5 separate regions of the Homo sapiens genome follow, and regions 2, 3, 4 and 5 are each linked to region 1. Evidence: promoter capture Hi-C in human tissues and cell types (Jung and others, 2019). All regions are on one chromosome and are shown on one strand. Each heading gives the region's core, a stretch centred on a gene start or on the middle of the fragment in contact. The rest is flanking DNA. Distances are from core to core; before and after follow the strand shown. Region 1 holds the start of ZNRF4 (zinc and ring finger 4). Region 2 holds the start of KDM4B (lysine demethylase 4B). Region 3 overlaps KDM4B (lysine demethylase 4B). Region 4 overlaps KDM4B (lysine demethylase 4B). Region 5 has its middle 4.6 kb from the start of PTPRS-AS1.

The links. Contacts are between HindIII fragments. The study calls those that stand out against the background at their distance.
Region 2: the fragment with the promoter of KDM4B here is called in contact with the fragment with the promoter of ZNRF4 in region 1 in 1 of the 25 tissues and cell types used here (IMR-90 fibroblasts).
Region 3: a fragment that was not itself captured here is called in contact with the fragment with the promoter of ZNRF4 in region 1 in 3 of the 25 tissues and cell types used here (IMR-90 fibroblasts, liver and thymus).
Region 4: a fragment that was not itself captured here is called in contact with the fragment with the promoter of ZNRF4 in region 1 in 2 of the 25 tissues and cell types used here (IMR-90 fibroblasts and lymphoblastoid cells).
Region 5: a contact is called between a fragment that was not itself captured here and the fragment with the promoter of ZNRF4 in region 1, in 2 of the 25 tissues and cell types used here (bladder and heart left ventricle).

Annotation. Positions count from the first base shown.
Region 1 is chr19:5,454,143-5,456,727 of GRCh38, reverse strand. It overlaps ZNRF4 (zinc and ring finger 4), which reads right to left and starts at 1,311. Exons shown (of 1, transcript NM_181710.4): 1 at 1-1,311. The coding sequence starts at 1,236. The HindIII fragment of the contact is 14,927 bases long and covers 1-2,565 here.
Region 2 is chr19:4,967,841-4,970,425 of GRCh38, reverse strand. It overlaps KDM4B (lysine demethylase 4B), which reads right to left and starts at 1,313. Exons shown (of 23, transcript NM_015015.3): 1 at 1,196-1,313. RefSeq lists silencers at 1,140-1,439, 1,750-1,849. The HindIII fragment of the contact is 14,440 bases long and covers 1-2,585 here.
Region 3 is chr19:5,132,485-5,135,069 of GRCh38, reverse strand. KDM4B (lysine demethylase 4B) reads right to left here. Exons shown (of 23, transcript NM_015015.3): 14 at 1,009-1,187. Among named protein-coding and RNA genes, the nearest start is that of PTPRS-AS1, 44 kb to the left of the region's middle. The HindIII fragment of the contact is 6,554 bases long and covers 1-2,585 here.
Region 4 is chr19:5,152,222-5,154,806 of GRCh38, reverse strand. KDM4B (lysine demethylase 4B) reads right to left here. Exons shown (of 23, transcript NM_015015.3): 23 at 1,209-2,585. Among named protein-coding and RNA genes, the nearest start is that of PTPRS-AS1, 24 kb to the left of the region's middle. RefSeq lists a silencer at 524-583 and an enhancer at 341-841. The HindIII fragment of the contact is 6,421 bases long and covers 1-2,585 here.
Region 5 is chr19:5,171,808-5,174,392 of GRCh38, reverse strand. No RefSeq gene overlaps it. Among named protein-coding and RNA genes, the nearest start is that of PTPRS-AS1, 4.6 kb to the left of the region's middle. RefSeq lists a silencer at 257-448 and an enhancer at 530-1,729. The HindIII fragment of the contact is 5,637 bases long and covers 1-2,585 here.

The sequences.
Region 1 (2,585 bases), core at 62-2,561:
CAGGGACGTGGTGCTGCAGTGGCAGTGGGGACTGGCGCGGCCCAGCAGCTCCAGCCTCCGGGAGCGTAGCTGGACTTGAATGGCCCAGATGGGGGGCCGGTGGCCCGGTAGGGAGGGGTCCTCGTCCCTGAAGCTGTAGGTGGTGGAGTCAAAGCTGTCTTCTGTGGCGGCCACCGACTGTTTGCACACGGGGCAGGAGCGCCGGGGGGCTTGGGAGAACCAGGGGTCAATGCATTTGCAGTGGTAGGTGTGGGAGCAGGGCAGGATCTTGAGTTGGTCGCCCTCCTCATACTCATCCAGGCAGATGGCACACAGGTCGTTGTGCCACGTGAAGGTGCGGACCTGGGCCTTCTGGCAGGTAGACGTCTTCACCGGCCGTCTGTGGCTGCAGCAGGCCTGGGCCCAGAGCCACAGGTGGTTCAGGACAAAGAAGGCTGATACGACCAGGGCCAGGGTACAGCCCAGCACCCAGGACACGGTCAGCACGGGGTGACAGCCCAGGTCGTGGCACGGTGGGTCGTCGGGCAGGAGCAGCGCGTGGGCCGACTTGTTGCAGCCCAGGATGACCCGCAGGTCCTGCGAGGCGGCCTCGCTCACGAACACTGAGGGGATGGCGATCTGGCCCCTCAAGTCCTCGTAGACGTGGGTCATGCTCACGAGGTCGTCGGAGTGGACGTTGTGCACGATGGCCGCCTCGAAGCCGGCGCGCTGGGCGTTCAGCACCTTGAGGTCGAAGGTGCAGTCGTAGCGGCGGATCAGCACGATGGCGCCCAGAGAGCGGTTGCCCAGTCGCGGGGCCTCGATGGGATGGCACGCGTTGGCTGGCTTGACCTCCATCAGGTAGCCCCGTATGCCCTCGGGGGCCAGGGGGACGCCGAACAGCGCCGGCAGATCCGCAAAGTCCACCGAGCTCGAGTTGTCTTCCAGCACGGCCCGTACCACTGCCTGCGCGGGCACCTGGAGCAGCGACAAGACCAGCAAGGCTTTGACTGCCACGAGGGCTCGGCCCGGCCGTGGCCACCCCATGGTCACCCGCTTCGCTGTCTGTGTGCTGCTAGGTCCCACTGGAGGCGGCAGGCATGAGGCCTTTGGGCATCTCCGGGGTCTCCCAGGGGGCCTGTGGCCAGGACGCGAGGGCAGTTGAGTTGGAATGACCGCGTGGCTCAGAGGCAGTGACGCGGCCACTGGGACCCTGCTGGCTCTAGGCATTAAGTGCTCCGGACGGCAGAGCGGCATGCGTCGTGTCTTTGAAGGCCGGTCTCAGGAGGTGCTGGCGCAGGTGGCCTTTCTGGCAGATGACATGGAGACCAGGAGTCACCAGGGTTCTAGATGCCCCCAGCTTCTGTGACATCGCCCTGCTACATTCTGTCCCAGGAGCTGCCAGCTGCCTGGGCCTGTGGCCAATGGATCATTCCTAGGTCTGTGATTTGCCGGTACCCGGGCAAGCTTTGAGATAACTTCTTGAAGGCTCAGGGTATCTTTGGACCCAAGGAGGCCCAGGGATGCTTCAAAAGGGCTGCCGGCCCCCAGCAGTGCAGATTCAGCCCTCACTGTGCGAAGACGCTACCAGCATCAGCTTCTGGAGGTTCCTAGCAACACACTGTAGAAGGTTCAATGTTACCCTTGTCTGAGACTCCAAGAGTGACCCAGACTTGTTCAAGCCACGCCCCCCTACAATGAGATCAGTGCTTAAAACCCAAATTCCTGACCCCCTGTCACCATCCCTCACTCTGCTCCAGCCACACAGATCTCCTTGCTGTTCCTCCAACACACCAGGCAGGATCCTGCCCCAGGGCCTTTGCATGGGCTGGGCCTCCTGCCTGGAAAGCCCTTTCTCTCCGTAGCTGGCTCTTTTATCCGGACTCAGGTCTGAGTCCATATATCCTCAGAGCCCTCCTGGACTTGATTTGGAGGGAGAGTCAAGTGCCAGGGTCAGGGTGGGGCTGGTGGGGGTCAGTGGTCCCAAGTCCGCACCGCCAGGTTGGCCTCCAGGCTTGCACCAGCTTCATTCTCTCTCCCTATAGCATTGCCTCTCCAGCTGGGTCTCCAACTGTGCCCCCTGCCTGAGCTTCAGCCCTGGGCATCAGCCTCACCTCCTCCCCAGTCCCCATCCCCCAAATTTCACACCCTCAATCTGTCTGCAGCCCACTCAAGTCGGATTTCTGTCTCTGCCATTCATAAGCTGTATGACATCAGCTAAATTCCTTAGCCTCTCTGGGCCTCAGCTTCCAGACCTGTAACATAGTCTTTCCCATGCTCTAAACTCTCCCATGGCTCCCCATTGCCCTCCAGATAAAGCCCACACTCTTCTCTGTGGCCTACATGCACCCCTGTGGTTGGGCGCCTGCCAATCTCTGAAGCCTGGATGATTTGCAATGTCCCAGAGGCATCTTGCTTTGTTCACCTCTAGAATTTTGCAAATGCTGTTCCCTCTGCCTGGAACAGAATTCTTGCTCCTCAACTTCACTTTGCCAGGCTGACTACTTAGTCTTTAGATTTTCTGTGTTGGCCTAATACCTCTCAGAGCAGCCCTCAGCCAGTGACAGATGGGAGGTGGTAGATAAATGCCCCCACTCCCTCGTCCC
Region 2 (2,585 bases), core at 64-2,563, 490 kb after region 1:
ACACGCCCCAGCCAGAAACACATGGAAAAAGACGCTCTTCACATATGACAGGATCACTAGGCTCCACGGAGCTGAACCACCTTCTCACTAGTTTCACAACTCGGGGAACACTTCCTCACAGGGTGCTGGTAAATTATTAAAACAGAAGCATCCTCCCCCAAGCAAACAGATGGGATGCACCCAAAAGCAGTCCATGCCTCCACTGCCCCCAGGGGCGGAAAACATGCCCCTTAAAACCTTCCACCGTGCCCAGGTGGACAGAGTCCCCCGTCCTGCCTGATTGTCATGGCCACCACTGAGCGCAGACCTGGGCCCTGGCAGACCCCAGGTCAAGCAGATTTCAGAGCGAGTCCGTCCCCAGCTCCCAGGGGGATGTCCACGGGGGACACAGAAAAGGGGTCTCGGCGGAAGCAACTCCTCAATTCATTTCTCTAGAGCAGGGGCTTCGTTCGAGATGGCGATCAGGCTGGAAGGGGGAGGGACGGAGAGACTCGTGGAGGCTGCCGTTGCATAGCAAGATGATTTTTTTCTAAAATCCAGATTGCATATGCTTATGGCGGGGTGGGGGTTTCGGGTACGTACAGGGGGGCAAGTTTGGAAGCTACCAAGGCATAGCAGGTTGACCGGAGGTGGGGGCAGTGCAGGAGCAATGATAGGCATTTAGGGGGCATCCCTGGGTGTCCAGCTGGGGGGCTTCCCCTTAGCCCCCCTGGCGCCCAAAGGGCCAGAAACGCAGGCGGGGGTTACCCAGGGGCTGGGGTCTTTTTCCTTTTTCTTGCTTTCTTTCAAAAATAATAATAATAATAGGCCGAGGCTTGTCCCGGGTGATAAAAGGGCCCGGCCGGGGCCACCCACGCTGTCATCTTTTGTGCGGGGCGCCGGGGCCGTCTGTGCCCAGCCCCCGCGCGCCCCCGGCCCGGGAAGGGGCCCCCGCTCCCGCCCCTGGGCGCGCCCCGCCATTGTCCGGCCCCGCCGCCCCCGCCCGAAAACCAGCGGGCGCCCCCGGGCCGGGCGGTTAACGCCCCAACCGCCCCGCCGGCCCGGACAAAGCGCGAGGCCCGGCCCGAGCAGGCCGCGCCCGAGGCCTGGGCCTCGAGTCCCGGGCGCGCCCGCAGCCCCGAGCCGCGACGCGGGGGCGGCCATGGCGGCGGGGTCCGCGCTCGGACACGGCCGGGCGGCCTCCCCGTGGGCTCACCTGAGGCGGCGTGCGCGGCCCGGTCCGGGAGCAGCGGCGCGCTCTCCCCCGCCCTCGGCGTCGCACCCCCAGGCCCCGCTCGGGCCGGGCCCCGCTCGGTTGCTGGCGACCGAGCCCTCCGCAAGCGCTCGCGGGGGGGCTTATAAGGCCGCGCGCCAGCTCCGCCCCGACTGCCATTGGCTGCCGGATCCACGCCCGAGCGCCCATTGGCCGGAGCTGACAGCTCCGCCCCTCCCCTCCGCCGGGCCCATCAACACCGCACGGCCCGCCCACCGCGCGCCGCGATTGGGCGGGGACAAACGCCGGCCTCGCCTCTTCATTGGCAGACCGGCGGGGACACGCCGGCGCCCACCCACGTGCCCGCTGACCGGCTCTGTTCTCATTGGAGGGGGCGCACGCCAGCCAAGGCTGCCGCGACCAACCCGACGGCAGCTGGGCCTTGGATTGACAAGGGAGCCTCAGGGCCCGCCCGACGACCGCACAGAGAGGAGCCAGTATTGGCTTGAGGGGCCAGCCCGAGGCGCGGACAGGCTGGGGCAGGTGCCAATCACTGCCCGCAAGCTCCGGGCCCCGCCCTGGTTATCAGGCGGCGGCTGAGTACGTGAGACCCAGCACAGCATCAGCACCGGCCGGGAACGTGCAGGCTGGAGGTTCGAAACCCGTGGCCGGAATGTGGGCTTAGCGTTCCCCAATTTGCAAAGTGCCAAGCAAGGAGACATAGCGATCCGTTTTGCAAAGGAGGAGAACCGAGAACATAGGGTAAAGCAGCAAGAGCCTCCACCCCGCCACCGTAGGTCTATTCCCATCACAATCAACAAACCTTTGCCAAGGGGCAAGGCCTTCGGAATAGTTAGGGTCCCTCTCCCCGAGTTCCCTAAAATGTATGGGAGAGAATGAGCTTTGGTGCTTTCTGACCTGGATTCAAAGCTAAGCCGGGCCCCATGCCTCACTGTGGTTGACCTCCAGCAAAGTAACCTCGCTGAGTCTGTTTCCAACTGTGCAATGGATATGATGGTAGTGGCCACACCCCGTCTACCCGCCTCTTGAGAATGTTGCAAGGATTAAGTGGGATGAGGCACGGAGAAAGATTTGACCCTGTGACTTCACAAAATGAGCATTCATTGTGTACTGGACCACGCAGGGGTGTGAGGCATGCCCCCATTTGGAGTGGCAGGAGTGTAAATTGGGCAATTTGACATTTTCTAATAACATTCTAAGTGCATCCACCACCCGATAACCCAGCCAGCAGTTCTTCCTGGAGGTGATGTACCCAGAAAAAAGGTCTGGAGCTTACACAATTCAAGAATGCCGGCGGCAGGGCTGTCTGCAACTGTTTCCAATGTTTTGCACTAACTATCCATCAGTGGGGGATTAGAGAAGTAACTTAATA
Region 3 (2,585 bases), core at 27-2,526, 320 kb after region 1:
TGGCCCCTGGTGCTGGGTGGCCCCTGGCGCTGGGGTATGCTGGGGGTGGTGTGTGATGAACGAGTCTCCACACTCTGCCTGGCAAGGGGAATTAGGAAGACGCATGTCTGAAGTGGCATTCCAGGCCCTGTGGCTCCCAGCAGCCTCTCTGGCCTCACAAAGGACAGCAAGTGCCTGGAGACGGTGTCGGCTGTCAGGTCTTGTTTGTCTCAGGAACCAGAGCACTAAATCCAGCTCCCAGCAGCAGAGCCCCAAGACAGGCTCACCACCCTCGGCACAGCACTCTCCCTGGCTCTGTCCACCCAGACCCGGCCGGCGCACAGGCCTGGGGGGTGACGTCCCCAACCCAGGGCAGCTCTGCTGATGCCTGGACATGCTTGGCATGGGGCTAGGAGCTGGGAGTGCAAAGCATGTGGCCAGGTCCTGTCCTGGGGAGGCTGCATGCCCAGGGGAAGAGAGAAGGGGGGATCTAAGAGATCCGAGGAAAACGGCTGGGCTGGGTGCTGATGCCTGGGATGGCCGTGGGCAGAGGCCAGCTCCCCATCTGGGTGCAGAGGACAGGCGAGGCCAGCATGGAAAGAGCACCAGAAACAGGACCTTAGCCAGGTGCCCAGCTCAGCTAGACAGGCCAGGGTTTGCGGGAGCCCCGCCCGGCCACCCAGGTGGTGTACCTGGGCCTTCACTGCACTCCCACACCACCCGGCCCATCTCAGCGCCCACCAGACACGGGCGCTCCCTGAGGGCAGTGACCCCGAGCCTCCGCAGCCTCCCTCTGCCCCATCCACCATGGCTCATGTTGCACATGGGCACGTTAGTAAGCTTCATTCCAATAAAACCCAGAGACCAGGCTCTGCCTACGGCTGTCAGGAACAAGCCCTCACAACTCGGGGTGCTGGCCAACACCCTGCCCTGCGTGAGAGAGGGAGGCGTGTGGGGTGCCCGGTCCCTCGCCCTCTCCCACCGCCCCTGCCTGGGGTTCTCTGGGACCCGTGAGGCCCGCCTGCCCACCTGGCAGTAGGGGTAGAAGAGCGTGCAGATGGCGCAGTAGGGCTCCGTGCGCGCAGCCGCTGCGTTGAACTTCCTCTCGGCCTGGAAGCTGGCCGCCCTGTTCTTCCACTGCAGAGACAGCAGCGGCCTCAAGGCGTCCGGGTCACTCACATCTTCCTCCCCGGAGAAAGGGGATGCCTCTAGAAGAACAGAGGGGAGAGGGAGAGAGACACTTGAGCCCCCTAAAAACTCGTCCAAGGAATCACCCCAACTGCCCAGGGGATGGCCCCGGGTCTACAGCCCTGGCTGCCCACAGGGTCCCTGGCCCATAGCTCCCCCTCCACCTGCCTCCTGGCTGCCCCATTCTCCACAATGCCCATCAAGCTGACACTGCAGCGTCCCATCCCATCAACAGGAGGGGGACACGTCTGTCTCGGCTGACTGCCACCTGAGGCCAGAGCCCCCAAACATGGTTCCTCTGAGCCCCTCCCCCAACACCTGGTTCTCCCTGGACATCCAGAGCCGTCCACTCACCCAGGGCCTTCTGGGCCAAGGACTGGCCAAACTCAGTGCCCAGCCCTGCCCCGGCTGCCCTACACCCGTCCTGGGGTCTGAGTCTGAGTGGGGGCGTCGGCAGTGACCAGCCGAGACTCAGAGACACTGTCCTTCCTGTCTTAGGTGGGCACAGACTCACTGAACTCAAGGGAGGTGCCAGAGGAGTGCGACAGGGAGTCAGGAGGGGCCGTGACCAGGGCTAGGAAGCCAAGGCAGCCCGCCCCAGGAAGAGCTGCGTGACGGGGACACTCTCCCGGAAGGCAGGTCTGCTGCTGAGAAGCCGCGGCGGTCTCTCTCCCACCTGTTGCCTGTTCCCATTGAACTCTAATGGCCTCCATTGCCAGCTGCCGCACCCCAATCTCCCCACGTCCCCTCCCTGCATCTCCTGTGGACACAGGGGTGCTGTCCCCAGGAAGTGGGGTGCCCACTCCTGTGGCCCAATCCTCAGCCCAACCTAAAGGGGAGCCTGGGGTCCTGGGATCAGCCCAGCTGTGGCACTGCCCCTGGTTCACCTAGAGGAGGGCAGGGCAGGGCAGGGCAGGCTCCCCGAGGTGGAGGCCCAGGTCTCCCATGGTGGACTCAGGAAGCCCTTAGGCCAAGACTCCTCTGAAAACCCAAACCAGACAGTACCGCCAGCGGAGCCCAGGGAAGGCCCTAAGCGGCCCCGAGGCCCTGGGGATGAGAACAGAGCCACTGGCTGCGTCTGTCACTCACAACCCCAGAATGCCTGGGGTTCTGGGGCCGTGATGGTCTCACAGGCAAATGCTCCGGTCTCACCAAAGGGTCACAGTGGGGTGTGGGGAGTGGGGGAGTCCACGGAGGCCCCAGAGATGCCTTCTGGAAGGATACCTGGGTAGAAGGCAAGACCCCTTCCCAAGCCAGCCCGCGGGGGCCCCTGGTCATTCCTCTGTCCCCGTGCCGATTCCTCCACTCCTGGGAGCTCCCGCCCTGTGATCCCACGCGCTTCTAGAACCCTCCTCTCCCCACCCCTCCAATTGCATGCAGGATGAAAGACGCCATCCAGACCATTTTCAGATTCTACA
Region 4 (2,585 bases), core at 60-2,559, 300 kb after region 1:
CTCGGCACAGCAGGCAGGTGGACACTCCTTCTGCAGAGGGAACGCCGGGGCCCAGGGAGGGATGGCCTGGCCGCGTCCCCCCGAGCCCTGGCTGCTGGGCCTGGGTTTCTCCGGGTGTCCCAGCCCCCGTCCCACCACAGACACCCAGGGCCCAGTCCTGGGTCCCACCCCACCTCCACCCACTCCCTGCAGGTGACTTCATCCTCTAGTTCCAACACCTGCCAGCTGACGGCCCCTGACCACCTGCCTTGGGGCGGCCTCCCCAGACCCAGCACCTTCACCTGGACGTCTGGTGTTCAAATCCAACCCCCTCCCAGCTCAACGCCTCCTTCCAGGGGCTCGGGTGATCTGCGAATCCTATTGGCTCTGCACTGAAAATGCATCCAGAATCCACCCACTTCTCACTACACCTGACCCCTGCCCTGGTCCCTAGCTTCTGCCCTTACCCCGTCTCCTCCCCACAGCAATCACCAGAGGGCGCCTGTGAGCACCTGAGTCAGGGCCCATCCCTCCCCTGCCCACACCCCTCCATGGCTCCCACCTCCCTCAGGGTCAAAGCCCAAGTCCTTCCCGAGACCCACAAGGGCCTGCACACCCTGCCTCCCCTCCTCCCCCTCTCCCCTGCCTCCCTCTGCTCCAGCCACAGGGGCCTCTTCATGTTCTTGCCGCACACCAGGCACAGGAGGGTCACCTCCCTGAGGGAGGCTCAGGTCTCCCGTGTCCCCTCTGCCGACTCCAGGCCTGGTGGGGCTGGGCACTGAGTGACCCAGGCCAGGACTGCTGGGTCCCAGTGGCCATCCAGGGCCGTGAGCCCCAGCGCCTAGCACGTCTGCCAGCCACCACCACCACAAGCAATGCTCTCGGGGCTCAGATGTAACCAGAACCGGATGGGGGACAGGGACAGGGCAGCTGCTGGCTGGGACGAGTGAGGCCAGGGCCAGGCCTCCAGAGAACTGAGGGGGAATCATGGGGTCCGCTGCCCCAGCCACCCAGCCTGGCCACAGCATGAGGGGCATGACAGCTGCCCCTGGGTGTGTGGGGGTGTGTTGGGGACCCTGGAGAGTGGGAGGGGAGGGACATCCAGCTCTGGAAGCAAACCTTCTCCCGGGAGAACGGGGCGCAGGCAGCCCCACCCCAGGGAGGCCCCAACATCAGTCCCCCTAGCACAGGCTCAGAAATGAAGACACTTGCCGGGGCATGGAACGGGGTTTCGCAGCGTTCATGAACCTTTAATTCATTATGAACCTAGAGGCAGGGACATTAGGCAAAAAATACAGCGTATCCTTCATCTCGGGTGGGGAAAAACCAGGGCACTGGGTTTTGCCGCGTCTTTGCACAGAGTAAGACACAGAGATACCTTCGTGGGGAGAGTGTGCAGCTCCGGCCTGCCCTTCTGTGGCCCATCTGCGCAGGCCGCCCAGGAGCCCACCAGGGGATGGGTGTGACCCCCAAGGGACAAGGGCAGCAGGGGCACCCGCCCGCTTCTTTACAATATAAATAGCATTTTCAAACAACATAAGAATACAGTGTCAGCGCCACGCCGGGCGAGGGCTGCGTGCAGAGGGACACCTCCACGTTTTGGCTGACACCCCCCAACCTCCCCGACCCCGGCCCTCTCCAGGGCAACCGCCCCCCTCCCCCACCAAGGAAATGAAAGGCTTGCTCCTGCGTAACACTCTCTCTGTTTTCCTTAGTCCTCTCTAGCCCGGGGACTGTTAGGACACTCTTTTATAATATAAACATTGCTTTTTTTTTTTTTTGGAGACAGGGTCTCGCTCTGTTGCCCAGGCTGGAGTGCAGTGGTGCAATCTGAGCTGACTGCAGCCTCAACCTCCTGGACTCAAGCAATCCTCCCACCACAGCCTCCCGAGTAGCTGGGACCACAGGTGCGCACCACCACACCTAGCTAATTTGTAAAAAATTTGTAGTGATGGGGTCTTGCTATATAGCCCAGGCTGGTCCCAAACTCCTGCCTCAGCCATTTTTTGTTTTTAATATAAGCAAATTATCTCCTCCATCCCTCCCTGGGGCAGGAGACAGCTAAGGTGGGGAAGGCTCCCCAGAGGGGTGCAGAGCTGGTGAGGGAGAGGCACCTGGAGAAGGCGCTTCCCAGCCTGGGCTGAAGGCCGTTTTTTCTCTATCAGCTCAACCCACTCCTAAGAAGCAGATTCCCCTCAGGTGACAGCAGCGTGGGTGGGTGGAGCGAGGACACCAGGCCTCGTCCCTGCCCGGAAGCAGGCGAAAGGGGCCCCGAAGGCCTGCCTCGGCCCTGTGTCCCCCGACCTGCTCAGGGTTGTACCCGAAGAGCTGGGAAGCTGTCCACACTCACTACCAACCAGAAGGGCCTGGGGGCCTCCCTCATCCTGAGCCATAGGAGGTGCAGGGGTGCTTTGTCTGCAAGGAAGCCTCTGGAACACCTGCGTTTCTCTCAGGTGAGAGAAACAAAGATAGACAAACCCCAGGAGAGAGTTTATTCTGCAAAGGTGGGCGCAGACGGAGGGAGGCCCCAGACCCCCGGGCTTCCCCTGGCCAGGTGCACAGGGGCGGCCACCAGAGAGCCTGGGCCTCCTCCCAGCAGGCACAGA
Region 5 (2,585 bases), core at 59-2,558, 280 kb after region 1:
GAGGGTGGGTGGGGTCAGTCCAGAAAGGCGACCAGCTTGGGGAGCAACCAGAAAGGGCCCTTGCTACCCAAACACAGTTTGCTCGGGAACCACAAATCCCACACTGCTTTATTCAGCAAAGACCGCCCACATTTATCTTCTCATCTTCCAGTGAAGAAAACGACAGACATTACAGCAGCTCCATCACCCTCATCAGCTGTAGGACAAGCTGGACCGTGGTGACGAGACTTTGCTCTTTTCCCTTGGAAGGATGTTGGCATTCCTGGAAAAAGGTGCTTATACGTGTTTTGTTTGTTTGTTTGTTTTTTAGACGGAGTCTCGCCCAGGCTGGAGTGCAGTGGCTCAATCTCGGCTCACTGCAAGCTCCGCCTCCTGGATTCACGCCATTCTCCTGCCTCAGCCTCCCGAGTGGCTGGGACTACAGGTGCCCGCCACCACGCCCGGCTAATTTTTTGTATTTTTAGTAGAGACGGGGTTTTACCGTGTTAGCCAGGATGGTCTCGATCTCCTGACCTCGTGATCCGCCCGCCTCAGCCTCCCAAAGTGCTGGGATTACAGGCGTGAGCCACCGCTCCTGGCCTGTTTTTGTCTTTTTTTTTTCTTTTGAGATGGAGTCTCGCTCTGTTGCCCAGGTTGGAGTGCACTGGGGCAATCTTTGCTCACTGCAACCCACACCTCCCAGGTTCAAGCAATTCTCGTGCCTCGGCCTCCTGAGTAGGTGGGATTGCAGGCACGCGCCATCACACCCGGCTAATTTTTATATTTTTAGTACAGATGGGGTTTCACCATGTTGGGTCTCAAACTCCTGACCTGGTCAGGCTGGTCTCAAACTCCTGACCTCAAGTGATCCACCTCCCTTGGCCTCCCAGAGTGCTGGGATTACAAGCCTGAGCCACCATACCCAGCCCTCACAAGCATTTTTGAAACATGAGTTTTGAGATGATATTTCTTTGTGACATCAATAACACCACCCACACCCACAGCGGTTATTTCAGGCTTGTGTCGTGGGGAGGTTTTCAGTTACTAGCACAGCCTGGGGCCATCCCTTTGGAGCTGACAGTCTTAACTCTGAGGACAAACTGGGGTTTCTGGAAAAGAATGAAGCTTTTGCACAAATGGCTCAGTCACCAAGGGTGTGACCTTTCGCTGATTCATCATGATTTTCTTTTCCTGTTGGAGACAGAAATGGATGATTCACTGTGGAGTATATTTAAAAATTCGATCTAAATGCTTCCGATAAGATTATTTGCAGGATTTAGAAAATTTTTATTTTATTTATTTTAAGACAGGATCTTGCTCTGTCACCCAGGCTGGAGTGCAGTGGTGTGATCATAGCTCACTGCAGCCTTGAACTCCTGGGCTCAAGCGATCCTCCCGCCTCAGCCTCCCAAGTAGCTGGGACTCAGGCATGCACCATCACGCTCAGCTAATTAAAAAAAATTTAGTACAGACAGTCTTGCTATGCTGCCCAGGCTGACCTCAACCTCCTGACTTCAAGTGATCCTCCCTCCTCAGCTCTGTGAAGTATTGGGGTTACAGGTGTGAGCCCCATCACTCTCTTTTTTTTTGGAGACGGAGTCTCACTCTGTCATCCAGGCTGGAGTGCAGTGGCGTGATCTTGGCTCATTGCAACCTCCACCTCCTGGGTTCAAGCTATTCTCCTGCCTCAGCCTCCCAAGTAGCTGGGACTACAGGCGCCCGCCACCACATCCGGCTAATTTTTTGTATTTTTAGTAGAGACGGGGTTTCACCATGTTAGCCAGGATGGTCTCATCTCCTGTCCTTGTGATCTGCCCTCTTCAGCCTCCCAAAGTGCTGGGATTACAGGCGTGAGCCACCGCACTCGGCTTTCTTTCTCTCTTTTTTTTTTTTTTTTTTTTTTGATACGGAGTCTCACTCTTGTTGCCCAGGCTGGAGTGCAGTGGTGCAGTGGTGCAATCTGGGCTCACTGCAACATCTGCCTCCCAGGTTCAAGCGATTCTCCTGCCTCAGCCTCCCAAGTAGCTGGGATTACAGGCATGTGCCACCACACCCGGCTAATTTTGTATTTTTAGTAGAGACAGGGTTTTACTATGTTGGTCAGGCTGGTTTTGAACCCCTGACCTCAGGCGATCTGCCCACTTTGGCGTCCCAAAGTGCTGGGATTACAGGCATGTGCCACGACATGAGGCCTTTTTTTTTTTTTTTTTTTAAAGACAGGGTCTCATTCTTTCGCCCAGGCTGGAGTGCAGTGGTGTGATCGTAGCTCACTGCAGCCTCAAACTCCTGGGCTCAAGTGATCCTCTTATCTCAGCCTCCTGAGTAGCTGAGACTACAGGTGCCCACCACCACGCCCAGCTCACTTTTTGATTTTTTGGTAGAGACGAAGTCTTACTCTGTTGCCCAGGCTGGTCTTAAACTCTTGGCCTCAAGTGATCCTCCCGCCTCAGCTTCCTCAACCGTTGGAATGCCAGGCATGAGCCAGCACACCTGACCTGGTTTTTCTCATTTATCAACATCAAACGTAAGAGAAGAAAAAGCTGGGTGTGACCCCTGACCCAGATCTCAGCAACTGACGCTGAGCTAGATGGATGTAGAAACGCAAA